2 separate regions of the Homo sapiens genome follow, and region 1 is linked to region 2. The links are contacts of gene promoters, found by promoter capture Hi-C in human tissues and cell types (Jung and others, 2019). All regions are on one chromosome and are shown on one strand. Each heading gives the region's core, a stretch centred on a gene start or on the middle of the fragment in contact. The rest is flanking DNA. Distances are from core to core; before and after follow the strand shown. Region 1 has its middle 56 kb from the start of SPIN1. Region 2 holds the start of SPIN1 (spindlin 1).

What was found. Contacts are between HindIII fragments. The study calls those that stand out against the background at their distance.
Region 1: a contact is called between a fragment that was not itself captured here and the fragment with the promoter of SPIN1 in region 2, in 1 of the 25 tissues and cell types used here (stomach).

What each region holds. Positions count from the first base shown.
Region 1 is chr9:88,329,676-88,336,129 of GRCh38, reverse strand. No RefSeq gene overlaps it. Among named protein-coding and RNA genes, the nearest start is that of SPIN1, 56 kb to the left of the region's middle. The HindIII fragment of the contact is 6,357 bases long and covers 564-6,454 here.
Region 2 is chr9:88,385,395-88,391,166 of GRCh38, reverse strand. It overlaps SPIN1 (spindlin 1), which reads right to left and starts at 2,723. Exons shown (of 6, transcript NM_006717.3): 1 at 2,629-2,723. It overlaps LOC124902204 (a long non-coding RNA gene), which reads left to right and starts at 1,968. Exons shown (of 2, transcript XR_007061652.1): 1 at 1,968-2,055; 2 at 3,050-5,772. RefSeq lists a silencer at 2,071-2,970 and an enhancer at 3,048-3,907. The HindIII fragment of the contact is 12,466 bases long and covers 1-5,772 here.

The DNA of each region.
Region 1 (6,454 bases), core at 2,493-4,992, 56 kb after region 2:
ACATATGCATTGGTCTGCACTGTATGTTATTAATCTTTAATATTTATGCCCATCTAAATAGTTTAAATGATATCTCACTGTTTTACTTTACATTTATCTGATAACTATTAAGAGAAAGCATCTTTTATTGACCATCCATATATATACAGTTGTTTTTTTTTTTGAGATGTTGTCTTGCTCTGTTGCCCAGGCTGGAGTACAATGGTGCGATCTTGGCTCACTGCAACCTCTGCCTCCCGGGTTCAAGCAATTCTCCTGCCTCAGACTCCCGAGTAGCGGGGATTACAGGTGCCTGCCACCACACCTGGCTATTTTTTTGTATTTTTAGTAGAGAAGAGGTTTCACCATATTGGCCAGGCTGGTCTCGAACTCCTGATCTCAGGCCTCTCAAAAGTGCTGGGATTACAGGTGTGAGCCACCGTGCCCGGCCAGTTTATTTTCTTTATAACTTGTGTATTTCATGTCCTAATTAGTAAATACTTTACCATCTAAGACTTATAGAAATATACTCCCTTGGGGCTAGGCACTGTGGCTCATGCCTGTAATCCCAGCACTTTGGGAGGCTGAGGCAGGTGGATCACGAGGTCAAGAAATCGAGACCATCTTGGCCAACATGGTGAAACCCCATCTTTACTAAAAATACAAAAATTAGCTGGGCGTGGTGGCGTGTGTCTGTAGTCCCAGCTATTCGGGAGGCTGAGGCAGGAGAATCACTTGAACCTGGGAGGCTGAGGTTGCAGTGAGCCGAGATCGCACCATTGCACTCCAGCCTGGGCGACAGAGCGAGACTCCATCTCAAAAAAAGGAAGGAAGGAAGTAAGGAAGGAAGGAAAGAGAAATATACTCCCTTGGTTTCTTTCAGTGCTTTTGTAATATGCTTACATCTAGGACCTTAATCAATAAAATAAATTTTAAGGGTGTGTGATCTGAGGAAAATATTGCAGTTTTTCCACAGAGATCATTGTTTCAACACTATTATTTTAAAAATAATCCATTCTGTGGTGGCTCATGCCTGTAATCCCAACGCTTTGGGAGAGCGAGGTGGGAGGATTTCTTGAGCTCAGGAGTTCGAGACCAGCTTGGGCAACATAGTGAGACCCTGTCTCTATAAGAAATAAACAAAATTAGTTGGGCATGGTGGTGTGCACCTATAATCTACTCAGTGGCTGAGGTGGGAGATTTGCTTGAGCACATGAGGTCAAGGCCTGGGCAACAGAGCAAGAGCCTGGCTTTAAAACCAACAATAAATAAAAAATTACTGTGACCTTTGTCATGTACTAAACTCCCATTTGTTGAGTTGCCTCCATCAGTGCGAAAGCCACTAATTTTCGTTTCAATGCCGTTGGCTACTTTGACTTGTGATAGGATTGTGTGCTCTCATTCTTCCTCTCCTTCAACATTTTCCTGGCAGATTTTCTTTCCTTCATTTTCTTTTTTCTTTTCTTTTCTTTCTTTCTTTTTTTTTTTTTTTTTTTTTTTGAGACAGGTCTTTCCCAGGCTAGAGGGCAGGGTCTTGCCTAGGCTGGAGTGTAGTGGTGTGATCTTGGCTGACTGCAGCCTTGACCTCCCAGGTTCAAGCAATCCTCCCACTTCAGCTTCCTGAGTTTCTGGGACCACAGGTGAGGTGCATGCCACTATGCCTGGCTAATTTTGTTTATTGTTTGTAAGGGTAGGGGCCTCACTATGTTGCCCAGCCGGGTCTCAAACTCCTAGACTCAATAGATTAGCCTGCCTTGGCCTCCCAAAGTGCTGGGATTACAGACATGAGCCACCGCAGCAGGCCTATTTTCTTTTCTTTTCTTTTCTTTTTGAGACAGAGTTTTGCTCTTGTCGCCTAGGCTGGAAAGCAGAGGTGAGATCTCGGCTCACTGCAACCTCTGCCTCCCAGGTTCAAGCAATTCTGCCTCGGCCTCCGGAGTAGCTGGGATTACAGGCATGTGCTACCACGCCCCGCTAATTGTTGTTGCTGAGACAGAGTCTTGCACTGTTGCCCAGGCTGGAGTGCAGGGGCACAATATTGGCTAATTGCAACCTGCGCTTCCCAGGTTAAAGAGATTATTGTGCCTCAGCCTCCTGAGTAGCTGGGATTAGAAGTGCCTGACACCACACCTGGCTAATTTTTGTATTTTTAGTAGAGACGGGGTTTCACCATGTTGGCCAGGCTGGTCTTGAACTCCTGACCTCAGGTGATCCACCCACCTAGGTCTCCCAAAGTGCTGGCTTAATGCAATAGGAGGGAAAAAACCAGGGAGTATGAATAATAAAATAGATGACTGTCTTACACACAAAATGCATGACGGTTATTTATGCATTTTATATAACGGAAAAACTAGTGGAACTAACAGGAAAGTTCCATAAGATGGACAGATATAGTTCGAACAAACAATAACCACTGGCTTTTTTTTTTTTTTGAGACGGAGTCTCACTCTGTTGCCCATGCTGGAGTACAATGGTGTGATCTCGGCTCACTGCAACCTCCGCCTACCAGGTTCAAACGATTCTCCTGTCTCAGCCTCCCGAGTAGCTGGGACTACAGGCGCCTGCCACCACTCCTGACCACCCTGGCCAGGCTGGTCTCGAATTCCTGACCTCAGGAGATCCGCCCCCTGCCTGCAAAACATTGCTCCTAACTCCACCTCCTATCCCAAAACCTATAAGAACTAATGATAATCAGCCAGGCACGGTGGCTCAGGCCTGTAATCCCAGCACTTCGGGAGGCCGAAGCAGCCAGATCACGAGGTCAGAAGATCGAGACCATCCTGGCTAACACAGTGAAACCCCGTCTCTAGTAAAAATACAAAAAAATTAGCTGGGCCTGGTGGTGGGTGCCTGTAGCCCCAGCTACTCGGGAGGCTGAGGCAGGAGAATGGCGTGAACCTGGGAGGCAGAGCTTGCAGTGAGCTGAGATTGTGCCACTGCACTCCAGCCTGGGTGACAGAGCAAGACTCCGTCTCAAAAAAGAAAAAAAATTATAATTTTGTACTCTGATATACTCGTCACTGTAAACAGCAAAAATCAAATGGGCACATCTGTAATAAAATAATACATTCAAATAAAAGATATTATAAAATATTTCTTTGGCAATAAAAAGCTTCTAACTTCTCCTGTAGTTAACATTCTAAATTCTGAGAAAAAAATTGTCAGGCCTCTGAGCCCAAGCTAAGCCATCATATCCCCTGTGACCTGCAGGATATGCTCCAGATGGCCTGAAGCAACTGAAGATCCACAAAAGAAGTGAAAATAGCCTTAACTGATGACATTCCTACACTGTGATTTGTTCCTGCCCCACCCTAACTGATCAATGTACTTTGTAATCTCCCCCACCCTTAAGAAGGTTCTTTGTAATTCTCCCCACCCTTGAGAATGTACTTTGTGAGATCCACCCCCTGCCCACAAAACATTGCTCCTAACCCCACCACCTATCCCAAAACCTATAAGAACTAATGATAATCAGGGGGGCACGATGGCTCAGGCCTGTAATCCCAGCACTTTGGGAGGCCGAGGCAGCCAGATCACGAGTTCAGAAGATCGAGACCATCCTGGCTAACACAGTGAAACCCCGTCTCTAGTAAAAATACAAAAATTTAGCTGGGCGTGGTGGCGGGTGCCTGTAGTCCCAGCTACTCGGGAGGGTGAGACAGGAGAATGGCGTGAACCCGGGAGGCGGAGCTTGCAGTGAGCTGAGACTGCGCCAGTGCACTCCAGCCTGGGTGACAGAGCGAGACTCCATCTCCAAAAAAGAAAAAGAACCAATGATAATCCCACCACCCTTTGCTGACTCTCCTTTCGGACTCAGCCCGTCTGCACCCAGGTGAAATAAACAGCCTTGTTACTCACACAAAGCCTGTTTGGTGGTGTCTTCACCCGGACGCATGTGACAAAAATGTCCATAGAATCTTGGGGCAAAAACATTTCCAAACGATATAAAATTCAGTCTGTTTATTGAGATAGAGGAAATTTATCTTGTATGAAGCTACCTAGCTACTCAAAAGCAGTTGAATATTGTGTTTTAGCAATTACAAAAAGAGTACCAATCTTAGATAAAACGTAACCTTCAGGATAGTAGAAGTGTGGAATCTACCAGATTGCTCACTGTGGGGATGAAACCCAATCCGCATGCTGTGCCCAGGATCCTGTGAATAAATCTCTTCTAAGGCATGGAAATGGCATCACTAATTCTTGAGTAGTCTGACAATGTGCCTATTCATAATCAAAAATTTCTTTTTTTTTTCTTCTTGAGACAGGGTCTTGCTCTGTTGCCCAGGTTGGAGTGCAGTGGCGTGATCTCGGCTCACTGCAATCTCTGCCTCCCAGGTTCAAGCGATTCTCCTGCCTCAGCCTCTTGAGTAGCTGGGATTACAGGCGCCCAACACCGTGCTTGGTTAATTTTTGTATTTTTAGTAGAGACGGTTTTCACTATGTTGGCCAGGCTGGTCTTGAACTCCTGGCCTCAAGTGATCCGCCTGCCTCGGCCTCCCAAAGTACTGGGATTACAGGAGTGAGCCACCTTGCCGGCCAGTTTCTCATTTTATTCAATAACTTCTCTTCTGGCTTCATATCCCAGAGTTAGCTTCTCAGAAATGGTTTTTTTTTTTAAGCTACAAGTGCTGGCCGGGCGCGGTGGCTCGCGCCTGTAATCCCAGCACTTTGGGAGGCAGAGGTGGGTGGAACACCTGAGATCAGGAGTTCAAGACCAGCCTGACCAACATGGAGAAACCCCGTGTCTACTAAAAATACAAAATTAGCCTGGGTGGTGGTGCATGCCTGTAATGCCAGCTACTTGGGAGGCTGAGGCAGGAGAATCGCTTGAACCTGGGAGGCGGAGGTTGCAGTGAGCCGAGATCGCACCATTGCACTCCAGCCTGGGCAAAAAGAGCGAAACTCCGTCTCAAAAAAAAAAAAAAAAAAAAAAAAAGCTGCAAGTGCTTTCAGGACACCTGGAATGGCCTTTTGCTCCTCTTCCCCTTCTTAGCCCTGTTAGTCCTTTAGACCTCAGCGTAACCACCACTTTATCAAGGCAGCTTTTTTTGATGCCCAGGCAGGGCCAGACCTTCCTGGTGGGTGCCTAGAGCTCTCTTGACTTCACATTCCAGCCATCTATCACAAGCTTGGCCCTGCATCAAAGCTCCATGGCGCATGGATCGGGCATGCTCCCCCTCCAGCAAAGTATTTCAACCCATATTCATCCATATTTGTGCAACGAATGACTGGGTAGTGTATTAGTTCATTCTTGCATTGCTATAAAGAACTACCTGAGACTGGGTAATTTATAAAGAAAAGAGGTTGAATTGGCTCATGGTTCTGCAGGCTCTATAGTGAGCATGGCTGGGGAGGCCTCAGGAAACTTACAATCATGGCAGAAGGTGAAAGGGAAGCAGGCATGACCTACATGGCTGGAGCAGGAGGAAACGGACGACAGGGGAGGTGCTACACACTTTTAGACAACCAAATCTCGTGAGAACTCACTATCACCAGAATAGCAAGGGGGAATGTCTGCCCCAACAGTCCAATCACCTCTCACCAGGCCCCTCCTCTCACACTGGGGATTACAATTTGCATGAGATTCGGGCGGGGACACAAGTCCAAACAATATCAGATAGGTTTCAGTCTTGAGTTTTATAAAAATTATTGATTTGACTGTGCTATGTTGTGAATGTGTTCCCCAAAATTTATGTGTTGGAAACTTAATCCTCAATGCAGCAGCGTTGGGAGGTGGAACCCATAAGAGGTGATTAGGTCATGAGGGCTCTGCCTTTATGAATGGATGAATGCTGTTATTGCAGGAATGGGCTCCTGATAAAAGAATGAGTCCAGCCTGCTTCCCCTTGCTTGCTCCTGGGTACTCTCTTGCTCTTCCACCTTCTGCCATGGGATGAAGCAGCAAGGAGGCCCTCACAAGATGCAGCCCCTTGAACTTGGACTTCTCAACCTCCAGAACTGTATGAAATTCAATTTTGTTCTGTTTTGTTTTTGTTTTTGTTTTTTTTTAGACAGAATTTTGCTCTTGTTGCCCAGGCTGGAGTGCAATGGCGCCATCTCGGCTCACTGCAACTTCCACCTCTCAGGTTCAAGCAATTCTCCTGCCTCAGCCTCCCGAGTAGCTGGGATTACAGGTGCCCACCACCACGCCTGGCTAATTTTTTGTATATTTGGTAGAGATAGGGTTCTACCACGTTGGCCAGGCTGGTCTCGAACTCCTGACCTCAGGTGCCACCTGCCTCTGCCTCCCAAAGTGCTGGGATTACAGACGTGAGCCAATTTTGTTCTTTATAAATTAACTAGTCTGTGGTATTCTATTGTAAACCAAAAGCAAAATTCTAAGCCTCCCCACCCCTCCCGCCAACCATCTGAATGGACCCTTCCTTTCAGCCAAGGACTTTCCAAAGTTGTCTCAGGCCATGACAGGAAGGGAGGGTTGAACATACCTCATTACACCCTCACCCTGCCGTCTTTT
Region 2 (5,772 bases), core at 1,474-3,973:
TTCAACATACTTCAGCTCTCCTCCCTGATGTGACCCAAAGAGCCAGTAGGTCCTAAGTGTCCTATGTGTGTTAGAAGCCTGAAGTCAGTGAGATGAAGCCCAACCCAAGAGTTCAAGTAAAGCAACTTGTGGGGCAAGAATATAAAGAAAACAGTGGGTAGTTTGGCAAGAGCATAATTATTAAATTTTCTGGTTTTCAAAAATGTGAACTCCAATAAGAGGACCTTCAATGTGCTGTTTTTGCAATTTTCAGTAACAAATGTGTGTACAGAGAAAATAAAACTGACATATTTGAGTAGCTTTAAAAAAAAACTTTTTTTAAAAAAAGGCTGCATGATGAATCAGTTATGTGGCTTTGGACCAGTAAGGAGTCAATTTCAACCCAGACTGTTCTGACTTGGAAGGCCATTGTGATTCCATGTCTAACTCCAGAATATTGTTTTCACAATACCATAACATCTTCTAAACTGAACAAAATACTTGCACGAAATAGTTGATTCTCTTCTTCCAATTTCTTTTCATTCATGGAAAGGGAAAGAAGACACATTGAATTAAGCATCCAACAAATATAAATACAGCATTAACATTTAAATGCTATCTCAGCAAATATTTTAAAGGATAAACCAAAAGAATGTATATCGAATATACTAGAAAAAAGATGCTAGCAATGAAGGAGTGCAACCAGTAACGTTGTAACTATGTGCAATCAGGTAAGTCACTGGAAGTGAAAACCACCTAAACCTCTGGCAGCTAAAACCAAATTAGTAACTCTCATCAATATGATAGCCAAATTTGAGACACTACCCACGAAATGCAGAGGGGCACACATCAGGCACATCAATATTGTGACCCCTCAGTTCACAAGTAAGGGAGACACACAATTATCTGAGATACACTTTAAGGACACCAATGACCAACATATGGCATCGCAATGGCTGTTCCAGGGAACATCCATTTTCACTGTTTCCTGGATTTCAGGCATAGAAAGATGACTGAAGACATATAGTGGCCCTTTTGCCTTGACCCAGTTCATAACCATTGTAAAAGTAACCATTTCACTACTCAAAAGATTATAAAGAAACTATTTTTCCTAAGAATCTAGGATCTACTACCTATAATTCTGGCATACACATTCTTTACAACCTTAATATATAATTATCAAATCTGATAACGAACGTTCTGTAAATTACCAGGTACTACAATATTTTGGTGTTTGCCTTTTAACTAAAGCTGAGGGGGGAGAGTGGGGAGGTTGGAAGAAGCCTCATTTCACCTGCCCTTTCCAAAATTTCACTTCAAAAGAGTGTTAAAAAAAACTCAGTATATCCAGGTATAAATCTCCAAGTTTAATTTTCACTGCTTAACAAAAGCGATGTAGAAAGCAATTACTGTACCCTCCATTAATCCTTTCGGATTGCATGGAATTCCTTCCAGAAAATTCCAATAGAAAAAAAGTTAAGACAGGTAATCGCGTTTTGGTACGTGTGTCGTCTCTGGCACAAGTCATGTAGAGTGAAATCCTTTAAGACATTTAAATGTTCCTGGTATTGTTTTGTGATTAACGTGATAAAATTGCCAAACAATCCATATTTACCATGAGTGAAAACACTTCCACCACGTACGGAAAATCTCTCCAAAACACAAAATCTGATTCAAAAATTATAAGTAAAAAGAGAATAAATGTAAAAACAATTCCATAAACAAACTTTGAAATGCGTATACGATGACATTACTGAAGCCATTACTCAAAACGAACCTCTGTAAAATCGAGAACGCACAATCAATGCAATAAAATGCTCGAGAAAGCCAAACCCGAGGCGCTGCGCAGTTCCCGCATCGCACAATTCGTTTCAACACATTCCTTGACGAATACACCCAAGGTCACTCACGATGGAGAGGAAAAGTGCCTGTCTCTCTCCAGAGCACGCAACCCGTTCGCCGCGCCCCCACGGAGGGCGGCGAAGAGACGGCGCATCAGGAAAGGGGCTGCGCGGGCGCGAGGACTGGCCGGTGGGCGTTCCGGCGCCGCGAACCGCGGAGCCTGCAACTTACAAGGTCCGCGGCCATCCCCCGGGCCTGGGAGGGGTGGCCCCAGGGCAGGCCCGCGTCCCCGGGGTGACCCGACCCGTCGCGCCGGGGTCCCGCCCCTCCCCCCGCCCCGCCCCCGTCGCCGGCCCGGGATTATGCAACGTTCCCCCTCCCCGCCTGCATTCTGGCGCAGCGCCCCCTCCCCGCGCCCGACTGCGCAGCGCCGCCGCCCCCTGCCCGCCGGCCTCCCCGCCCGGCTCCAAACAAAGCGCGCGCTAAGGGGCCGGCGGCGGCCGGGGAACTGGGGACGAGAGGGTGGCGGCCATGTTGGCGGGGGGCGGCGGGGATGGGGGCACGGAGGAGTAGGGGCCGGCGAACAAAGGAGCGCGCGCCCGCCCCGAGGCCCAGGCCCGCCCAGCCCGGGTCCCCGCCGCGGCCCAGCCGGCAGGGGGCGCTATGCGGGCGCCGCCCGCTGGACAATGCTCCGCCGGGCCCCGCGCGGGCCGCGCTCACCTGCGCCCCCGGGCAGACCGCCGCACCGCTGGCCCGCCCGCAGCCCGCACTCCCTCACGACCCACGCCCGCCCTGCGCGGGCCTCACCTGCTGACCGCCGAGGCTGCAGTCCACAGGCCCACGGGTTCCGCCGTCGCTCGTTCGCGCTCCCGCCGGCCCCAGCCTGAGCCAGACGGCGCCTCCCCGCCCCCGCTCCCTCGCCGCGGACGCCGCCCGCCCCCCAACAGTCAGGGCGCACGCGCACTGCGCCCGCCGAACTGCGACGGCCGCGCCGCCCCGGCGCCTGGCGCCGACGGCCGACTGCGCAGGCGCAGTGGGGCGGGGCGGGGCCGGCGAGGGCGGGGCCTGGCCCCTCTCACCTGGCTGGCGGCAGGGCGGGGCTCGAGCCCGGGACTGCCAGGTGCGCGCCGGGAATGGGCGGCGGCAGGCGCGCGGGGCACAGGTTCCTGAGGGGGCGCAGCTTTTCCTGGAAGGCAGGCAGCCTGAGAAGGGCTTCGTTTTTGCGCAGTAGGACGTTGAAGAAAGGACAAGCCCCCTTTGTCCTGGACGTAAGCCGCAAGTCGTCCTGAGTGGTGCACACCGCGAAGACTGAGGAAACTGGATCACAGGGCTGGGCCGTGAGCCTTGAACCTCGGAGAACGTCGCATTACTGCTCCAGCGCGCCGGTTCAGGGCCGCGGGACGCGAGCCCTTTAAAAGGATGGATTTGCTTCCTGTGACTCCCTGGAAGAGACGTCTTCACCACCGCACTGCGTAGAGGCCGGCGTCGTCGCCGGCTCACCCCGCTTGCTGCCTCCCCGCACAAAGCCCAGCCCAGGTAGCTCAGGTTAGCTGGAGCCCCGGAGCCTCACCTACAAGTACCTGGCCTGTCCTAGGTTGTGTGGGGACGGGATGTGGCTTCTGCAAGCCCAGAAACCTGTTTCCACTCCCCCACCACAAATGGAACTCACCCAGCTCTACTCGCAAGGTTAGGAGCCAAAAATTCCCATGATCGCACGCGAATTCATTTGACTTCCGTTTCAGTTAAGATGCCTTTTCAGCATTTTGTTGCTTGTTTGCAGAAGGGAGAGAGGTAGGATCAAGAATAGTTTTTACTCCTGCAGAGTCGAGTGCGAGACTTGGAGGCTGAGTCCAGGCGCTCTCCCCTCCCCGCCAGTCCCGTGTCCTGGAGCAGGTCACTGACCTGGTTCCTCGAGTGCGACAGCGCAGCCTCATCGTAATAAACCGCCTCCCAAAGCGTTGTCAGATCAAATTCCAGAACATGTTACTGGAAAGCACCTTGAACACTCTAAACTGCAGCACAGTTATTAGTTAGCAATACTCTTTGGGGTTTCACTGGCACCTTTTCTAACAAATAAGATTGATAGATGCCTGCTCAAACAAATTGAAGTGCTTGTCTCAGATGACACACTTGGCAGGCATGGGACGTTCACAGGCCAACTAGAGAGCTAATTTCAAAACTGAGATATAAAAGTGTATCGCTGTACTTACAAGTTACCAAGTGTTGAGAAATTACTCACTTTCATTTGTGTGTTTAATGTCTTTTTTGTTTTTTTAGACGGAGTCTCACTCTGTTCCCCAGGCTGCAGTGCAGTGGCATGATCTCGGCCCACTGCAACCTCCGCTTCCTGGGTTCAAGCAATCCTCACATTTCAGCCTCCCGAGTAGCTGGGATTACAGGCGCGCACCACCATGTCCAGCTAATTTTTAAAAATATTTTTAGTAGAGACGGGGTTTCGCCATGTTGGCCAGGCCGGTCTCAAACTCCTGGCCTCCAGCAATCCGCTGGCCTCGGCCTCCTGAAGTGCTAGGATTACAGGCGTGAGCCACCGCGCCTGGCCTGTTTAATGTCTTGCAGTGGGGTCATCTCCGAAACAAAGAGGGATGGGAAGAAGGTAGGTGCCAAGAAGTCTGCTGGTTGGAAGATTTCATCTCATTGGCGAGATCCCTGGGTTTCTCCACCTCAGCAGTGTTGGCTTTTGGGATGGGATAATCCTTTCATGTGGGGTCTGTTCCATGCTTTGTAGGATGTTTGACAGCATCCCTGGCCTCCACCCACTAGATGCCAGTAGCACACACACTCCTCCAAAATTCACGGAAAACGTCTTCAAAGTCAAATATGTGGCCCCACCTTCATCTCCATCCCCAACCCCTGATTTAAAATTTGCCACTGGTGATGATCTCATTGGGAGCTATTGAGAATACACAGGACTGTGGTTTACACCTGTAATCCCAACACTTTGGGAGGCTGAGGCTGGAGGATGGCTTGAGCCCAGGAGTTTGAGACCAGCCTGGGCAACATAGCAAGACCCCAACTCTAAAATAAATAAAATTTTAAAAAATTTTAAAAAGGCCAAGAACAGTGGCTCTCACCTGTAATCCCAGCACTTTGGGAGGCCGAGGCAAGTGGATCACTTGAGGTCAGGAGTTTGAGACCAGCCTGGCCAACACAGTGAAACCCCATCTCTGCTAAAAATACAAAAATTAGCGAGGCGTGGTGGTGCACGCCTGTAATCCCAGCTGCTCCAGAGACTGAGGCAGGAGAATCGCTTGAACCCAGGAGGCAGGGTTTGCAGTGAGTCGAGACTGTGCCACTGCACTCCAGCCTGGGTGACGGAGTCAAACTCCATCTCAAAAAAAAATACACAGGATTGTGGCTCATGCCTGTAATACCGGCACTTTGGGAGGCCAAGGTGGTAGGATGGCTTGAGCCCAGGAGTTCAGGACCAGCCTGGGCAACATAGCAAGACCCCAACTGTACAATAAATAAATAAAATTTTTTAAAATGAAACAAAGGCCGGCCAGCTGCAATGGCTCACGCCTGTAATCCCAGCACTTTGGGAGGCCGAGGCAGGCAGATCACTTGAGGTCAGGAGTTCTAGACCAGCCTGGCCAACGTGGTGAAACCCCATTTCTACTAAAAATATAAAAATTAGCCAGCCGTGGTGGCAGGCACCAGTAATCCGAGCTATTTAGGAGGCTGAGGCAGGAGAATCGCTTGAACCCAGGAGGCAGGGGTTACAGTGAGCCGAGATTGCACCACTGCACTCCAGCCTGGACAACAAGAGTGAGACTCCATCTCAAAAAAAAAAAATTAAAAATAAAAGAATGCACAGTCCAGTAATGTCACCCAGCCCTATATCAGTAAAGGTCACACTCTAGAGTGGTACATATCTCAGCTGCATCTAAGGCCTTGCTAATTAGCTCATTAGAATGTCACAAATGGGTTTTT